Regions from separate parts of the Homo sapiens genome. Here region 1 is linked to region 2. The links are contacts of gene promoters, found by promoter capture Hi-C in blood cells and fetal thymus (Javierre and others, 2016). All regions are on one chromosome and are shown on one strand. The core of a region is centred on a gene start or on the middle of the fragment in contact, and the rest is flanking DNA. Distances in the headings are between cores, read along the strand shown. Region 1 holds the start of QDPR (quinoid dihydropteridine reductase). Region 2 overlaps PACRGL (parkin coregulated like).

What was found. The method cuts DNA at HindIII sites, captures the fragments that hold promoters and counts their contacts. A CHiCAGO score of 5 or more calls a contact.
Region 1: a contact is called between the fragment with the promoter of QDPR here and a fragment that was not itself captured in region 2, in 4 of 17 cell types (naive B cells, total CD4 T cells, naive CD8 T cells and 1 more). The highest score is 7.5, in naive B cells.

The regions. Positions count from the first base shown.
Region 1 is chr4:17,510,208-17,513,887 of GRCh38, reverse strand. QDPR (quinoid dihydropteridine reductase) reads left to right here and starts at 1,798. Exons shown (of 7, transcript NM_000320.3): 1 at 1,798-1,938. The coding sequence starts at 1,834. RefSeq lists a silencer at 1,590-2,169. The HindIII fragment of the contact is 4,464 bases long and covers 773-3,680 here.
Region 2 is chr4:20,700,624-20,704,329 of GRCh38, reverse strand. PACRGL (parkin coregulated like) reads right to left here. Exons shown (of 9, transcript NM_001258345.3): 1 at 3,543-3,706. Among named protein-coding and RNA genes, the nearest start is that of PACRGL, 2.0 kb to the right of the region's middle. RefSeq lists an enhancer at 3,640-3,706. The HindIII fragment of the contact is 196 bases long and covers 1,376-1,571 here.

The sequences.
Region 1 (3,680 bases), core at 549-3,048, 3.2 Mb after region 2:
ATGCCACTCTGAGTAACAGAGTGAGATCCTGTCTCTTACTATATATACAGATGAGTGGCACTTTACCATGTACAAAATGCAAAATGCTTTGACCATATGCTTGCTCACCTCTGATGCTCCAGCAACCCTTTAAGGTAAACAGGAGATGCACGATTTCAGCCATTTCTCTCATGAAAAACTGGATGTCAGTGCTGGGGCTGAAATTCAGGTCTTTGAATTACAACAGCTCATCTTCATCCCAGTGACTTTGAAACAGCAAATGTTTTTCTGGTAAAAAATAACAGAATACATATAAAAGGCTCAGAAGACTGCTTGGCACATTAAGTGATCAATAATGTTAGTTCACGTTCTTATTTTAACATTAAGCATGCTTTGACAAGTCAGGACTTGCGTAAATATCATTGAGTCATATTTCTGCCGTCAGTGAGGGACCTGTGTCAACTTTTGGTGTTTTGAGGGTTAAGCAATTGTTTTCAGAAAAACTCTAAGGGAAACACTTGATTCCCAACAAGCCTTTGTCTTGCTGAACAAAGGTGTGGTTAAGTGGAACTCTAGCTATTGAAGACCTGTGTTCAAATTCCCACTCTTCCAGACAAGTGTCTGTGACTCTCATGCCTCAGCTTTCTAATCTGCATAGGATTATCGTGTGGAGTAAAGTGAAATAGCACAGGCAGATCACTTAGCGCAGTGCCTTGGATATAAGGAGCACTAAATAGATGGTGCTCTCCTCTCCATCCAGCCTCCTAGCAGTTCTATTTCTGATAATGAAGCTTCTGACAACAAAATGTGCTGCTGGCTGCATCCTCTTCTCTAGTGACATATTTCTGCATGCTTTACCTGGCACAAGTTTACTGAACAAACATCTGTGTCTGCTGTGTACAAGGTTATATGTGGATGGGAAGTGACACAAAGATGTATGTAATACAGGGTTCTGCTATCAAGAAGGTTATGAGAGTGTTAGAGCTCTGGTTCTCTATCAGTGATGAATTTGCCCCTAGGAGACAACTGTTAAATCTGGAGATATTTTTGATTCTTATGAGTGAGGGGTAGGGGTTTGCTATTGATTTCTAGTATATGCAGGCCAGGGATGCTGTAAATATCCTACAGTACCCAGGGCAGCACCTGTCACAAATAATTATCTGGCCCAAAATGTCAGTAGTGCTGTAGATGAGAGGCTCTGTGTTAAAGATACAGGCCATGGGCAGAAATAACTAATATACAAGGGAGAAAATGCCAGGATCTGTGTCTGGCGATGGGTGGCATATAGTAAAAGGGCCATTTGGATTAATGGGTATAAATTTACGGTTAGATAGAAGAAATAAGACCTAGTGTGGTTTGTCTCGTCTCGGCGGTGGACTTTCAGCTCCTTGAGCGGAGCGACCTCTTCTGTTTTTTTGGCAGGTGGGAATACTTAAATCTCTATTTTGATGCACAATTAAAAATAAAAAATTGCCAAAACAGTGGTCGAAAATTGTACTATACTATATTTTACATGCTTACACTTCACAAATTAATGCTCGTAAAACACCCGCTCTCCACCCTCCTCGCCCTTAGCCCGGCTCGCTGCACGCCCCGAGGCCCAGCACTTGCTGGCGGGTGGGAGGAGGGGCTTCGCCGATGTCCCCGTCCCAGGGGCAGGGCCTGGCCGAAGTTACAGTCCCTCCGGGTGGCGGGGCGCCCCGAGCGTGGCAGCGCGCTAGGCGGCAGCAGCGGGCGCGGAGCGGGGCGCGGCCGCCGCGCGTTCCCTCTTGGCGGGGTTGGCCGGCCGGGGCGGGGCGCGGCGCTCCGGCTCGAGGCATTCGGAGCTGCGGGAGCCGGGCTGGCAGGAGCAGGATGGCGGCGGCGGCGGCTGCAGGCGAGGCGCGCCGGGTGCTGGTGTACGGCGGCAGGGGCGCTCTGGGTTCTCGATGCGTGCAGGCTTTTCGGGCCCGCAACTGGGTAATGCTGCGGGCTGGGGCTGCTGGGTCTCCGCGGGGGTGGCCGGGGGCTTTCGTGTGGAACCCGGCGGGGGGCAGTCTAGAGGAAGGTGGGGGCCCCTGTGCACCCCCTGACTCGTGTTGCTTGCACGTGCGCGCACAGGTCTACGCGTCTATTCCTGTTTCCGAGTGCGTGCGCACGCCAGTCCCAGGGCGCTGGGCCTTTGCTGTGCAAGGAGGTGCTCCGTGGGCCTCCGCCAGACCCAAAAAGTCCGGCGTGACTCGGGAGAGAATTCCAAAGGGGAGGAACGGGAGCAGGGGTGAGAGGACGGAGAGAGAGTGTAGAAGGAAGGCTCTAGAATGAGACAGCCCAGTCCCGGTTACTAGTCATGAGACCGCGTATTGATTACCTAACGCCGTAGGACCTCGGTTTCCCCATTTGTACAACGGAGATTCTGACAGTGAGAGTTGGGACGATTAGATGAGATAATTGGTGTCGTTGCACATAAATTACCTGACGCCTGGTAAAAACTGTTTAAATGCTGTCTATTAATGTTACTATTACTACCCACCCCTGTTCTTTTAGCCCCATTGGATCTGACAGTTTGAAGGCTCAGCACGGAAAAACGCTGACGGCTTCTTTGCTCTGCAAAGACTATTTCAACTACTTTGCATAGTCAGGTGTCAATTTCCAGGAGGCGGCAAGTCGGAGCAGAGCTGATACATGGCCAAAGACCCTTGACCTCAGCCGCTCAGCAGGCCTCAGCAATTTCCCGGTGGAGACACTGCCAGCGGCAGCGTTCTGGGAGCTTAGTTAGCAGCAGCAGCACAGCAGCCTGGGCAAGAGTTCCCCTGGGACCAGAAAAAGGCTTTCAGGATTTTCTTTAAAAAAAAACTATCTAATTTTTATAGATGAAGGGGGCAAAAGTACAGTTTAGTTACATGGATATGTTGTGTAGTGGTGAAGTCTGGGCTTTTAGTGTAACCATCACCCAAATAGTGTACATTTACCAAGGTTTTCTTGTTGCTCAGAATCTGGTACAGGAATATGCTTCTGAAGAATTCAGTCACACCACTCCCTTCCTGCCACCCATCTGCTCAGTGCTTGGGGACACTGATGAGGGCGCTTTCCCAGGTCTTCAGAGATGCATGGTGGTGACAGAGGCAGCACTTCTGCCAAGGGCCAGGCACTGTGTTCCCAGTACCAGAGTTCCCATAGACTCTTAATGCCCCCAATATCTTTAAGGCAGTAGATCCTGTTAGCGTCATGTGTTAGAGGGTGAAGGCTGTGCTTTCTCCTGGTGGTGGCACTTTGGTTTACCTTGGTCTTGGCAGAATCTGGAGAGCTGATTTACCTCTGGCTCTTGGTCTTTCCCCTCCGAGCTTCTTCCTGCCATCTTAGGGAGGGCTAGGATGATGGAGACTTTTCATTGTTTCAGTATCCCCCATGGGATAACAAGTTAATTAATAATATAACAAATGTTGATGAATAGATGCTGTGTTTACAGCTTAAGGTAGAGATAATTATCTCTGGGGACTTCAGACCAAGAGACCCTGAGTAAGGACTGAACATCCCCTGTGCCAGGAGCTTTAGCATCTTCCATTTCATTTAATTCTTACACTGACCCTGTTAATCATCAACAAACAACCTCTTTTGTTGGGAACCTCTGCCCGGCATCGGAGTGAGAAAGCCACTCTGGCAGAGCTGGGATTCAAACCTGATCTGTCTGATTTCCAATCCTAAAGTCCATCCCTCTCTGCTGC
Region 2 (3,706 bases), core at 224-2,723:
GGAAAAGACTAATGAGAAAACATGAAATTATGTCAACTTCAATAGTATCAATAACAGCAAAATAATCATCTCCAAGAAATGATGTACAAAAGTCAACTTTTTTTCCATTCAAATTGTCAAAATAAACTGTTAGAAACTCACTTCCAATTCTCTGACCACATTAGAAAACACAGACTAGATTTCTGAAAGGAGTGGTTGGTACATTCCCTGTCATCTTCTCCATCTTCTCTGGCCTCTGTATTTCCAAAGCTCCAAATGTTAACATGTGCACATCAAGCTCTACTTTTCCAGTGACATAATGAACTCTCCTACCCAATGTATCACAAGCTCCTTAAACTGAATGTAACTAAAACTGAGGTTGTCACACTGAAGTTATTATGAACCCCTTGTTAACCCAGGGTACCACCAGTTTTCTGGTCCTCAGACTGAAAAACTTAGAATCACCATTGTCTCCTTTTCCTTCATTTCCTACACTCAATGCTACACGTGATGAGAAAGAAAGAGCTTTGGGCTCAAATATGGGTCTGCATCTCAGTTCTACCAATTATGAAATTTATGAATTTAGGCAGATTATTTAACCTCCCTAAACCTCGACTTCCTGACCTGTTTAAAGAGGGAAATAAAAGCCTGTCAAGGTTTTCTGGAGGTGCAAATGAAATTATCTCTCAAGTTACTCACCCAGGGAATACTGGTTCACTTTTCCCTTACACAGTTGCTTTTTTTCTGCTAATGGAGGACTCTAGTTCATACCCCAAGGTTTCCAGCTAATCCAATCAATTTCTACAATTGTATCTCTAGCAAGAAATACACACACACAAACACACACACACACACACACACACACACACACACTCATATACCCAAGTGCCTACTGGTATTTTTAGGCCAAGCTTCATTCCCAACTTCCATGAAGCCTTTCCTCATCTTGGTTTCTCAAATGTGTATTTCTATGGCATTGATTTCTATCCTGTGTCCTTATTTCTACTTGATTACTCTGTTCCCTCACTTCCACGACAATCTAGTTATTCTATTAGCACACGTCTCATTTTAATGCCTTTAATAATGACTGCCTCTCAAGTATAGTGTAAGATCTTCCCTTAGGACAACACAGGTAAAGTCCTCTTCCACCTCCAAATGACACTTTTTCAAATATTTGATGGCATTAACTCTTAACTCCTTCATTTTTTCTTCTTCAGGATAAACACTGATACTTTTTAAAATGATTCCTCACATGAAATGCTTTTAATCCACTTAACAAGTTAGAAATCCTCAAAAGGAGGACAAAGCTCCATGTTATAAAATTTAGCCAGATATCTCAAACATGATGTACCAGCTTAAAGTCTGATACCATGTAAAGATAACCTAAATGTAAGCTTGCTTCTGCACACTGAATAATTTCAATTTCCTTGATTTAGTACATTGATCTCATTTATCTCATCCCACTACCAGCAGATGACTTACTTCCCAGTATCACACTTCACCTCCATTCCCAGGGCCATTTTCTAATACTACGGTAATTAAAATCTCATTAAAGTTGTCAGATAATAGTCTAAAATAAGCTGAGAGAAGCTTTAAATATGTTAACCTACTATTGTACTTCTGTGATCATTCAACAAGTATTTAATATTGTGCCTGACTTCTGTTTTGAGAAGCTCCTGGAGGGGGAACAACACAAGTTTCTATTGAAAAAAAAAATGCATCAGTTTCCTCAACTCTATAATTGGGCATAATTACAGGAACTACTTTAAGTGTTGATGAAGACTAGTAAGAATATATGTAAAACAACATTTCCATAATGGGAGGCATGCAGTAAGGGCCACATGAGTCTTAGCTATTATTATAATTTTCTTTACAATGGTACAAAGTGTTCTTCAGTATTACTATTACTAATAGTGAAACCACATGTTTTGTCATTTTTAAAAAATCTGGCTTAACATCTTGGGCTACATCAATTTGAAGACCAGCTGAGGTCCAATTTCTCTTGATCATCAATTGTTAACAGCTGCAACAGATAAAAGCGATGCACAGCAAAGACGCGTACCCACAAACATAACAAGGGCACAGGCAGCCATATCAAATTATGATGCACATTTTTCAATACTACCTACCAATTCAGTGGAAGTTTTGGATGGAATTTTATGGCTAAATTTCTATCTTCCTTCACGTCAAAAAGTTGTTCCTGTAACAAACTAATGGGGAGGTGTTGCATTATATTTTGAATGAGTTCAAAAAGTCACCAAAACTCATTTGAAAAAGTTTTAAACATGGTAGAAAATCGAGCTTCTACAGTTTATGAGTATACAGGACAACTTTTATGTACAATATATAATTTTCAGCATTAAACATACAGTAATGCAAACACGTCTACATCCCCTTTCAAAATCCTGTATTAGAGAATTTCCTTCCAAAACAATTGCTTTTTCACTTAAAATTTTTATCCTTTACCTTAACGACAAATTACAGTTGGCTCTCCGTATATGCGGGTTCCACATCTATAGATTTGACCCAACCACGGATACGGAGAGCAGACTGGAGGACTTTGGCATGGGTGGATTTGGGTATCTGAAAGAGACTGGGGGGAGGGAGGGAGTCCTGGAGCCAATTCTCCACGGACACCAAGGGACGACGGGAAATGTAGTCAATTTTTTAAAATAATATCCACCTGGAAGCATGCCACTGACAAGCCTGGAGCATGAGTTGTTTGTGAAAGCAAGCTTTAAAAATCTTATCCTTGGTAACCCTTTCAAGTGGTTTTTCATTAAATAACATGTAGAGGATGGTGTAAAGGGGCAGTGATGGGGAGAAGCGAACCTGTAAGAACTATTTTGTGTTACAAATATTATCAAGGTCACCGCTCATTCTTTTACAAAACAAGATAAACATTCTAATTATAGATATTAGAATCCATAAATCCACTTAACTTCGAACACCTAAACTATGTCACAATATCAGAAAGCAAACAAACCACCCTATGAAGCCCACACATTCCCCTTAAAGCTTCCTTGGTTGCTACAGGTCATCTATCTACAAGGGACTGCCGGTATCTGTGTCAATGGTAGGAAAGTGTACTTTCTATCATTGTTTGGGCAGCTGATATAGCCTATTTCTTTCCCTGTATGTACTTTCTCCCGTACTCAGCTTTAAGACCACTGAACTAAAACAATTCTCAGTCAGCAGAGCCCTGCTTTCTAATCCAGGTCTAGAAAGTTCCAAACGTGTAAGTAAGAGCCCCACTAAAGAAACCATGTTCCATTTGTAAAGCTCTGTCAAATTCTAAAAGACCCAGAGCCCAATAGTCACTTATCCCAGTCCCTTTTTTACCAGAAAGTAAATTCAAAGGGCCAGTATTAGGGTCGCACAATCTGCTTAGGGGTCTTAGAATCTATTTTCCACCTTCCCAGCCACCCCTCCTACACTCACTTCTAGATACTTAAAGACCAGTCCAGAGCCAGGATGCTATCAAAGTCAGCAAAAGAGGAAGACACAGAAAAAAAATAAAGAAAAAACAGAGATTTTTTAAAGGGGCCGAGGGAGGAGTTTACCAGTTTCAATTAAGGTTAACGAAGGCTACTCTCGACTGACCCTCTACCCCAGGAAAGGAGGGGTACACTCCAAGCGCTCACGATCTCAAGGGTCCTTAGCAACGGGGTCCAGCGGCCCTAGCAACAGATCAGGAAGCAAGCCGGCTTGGCAGAGAGCGCAGACA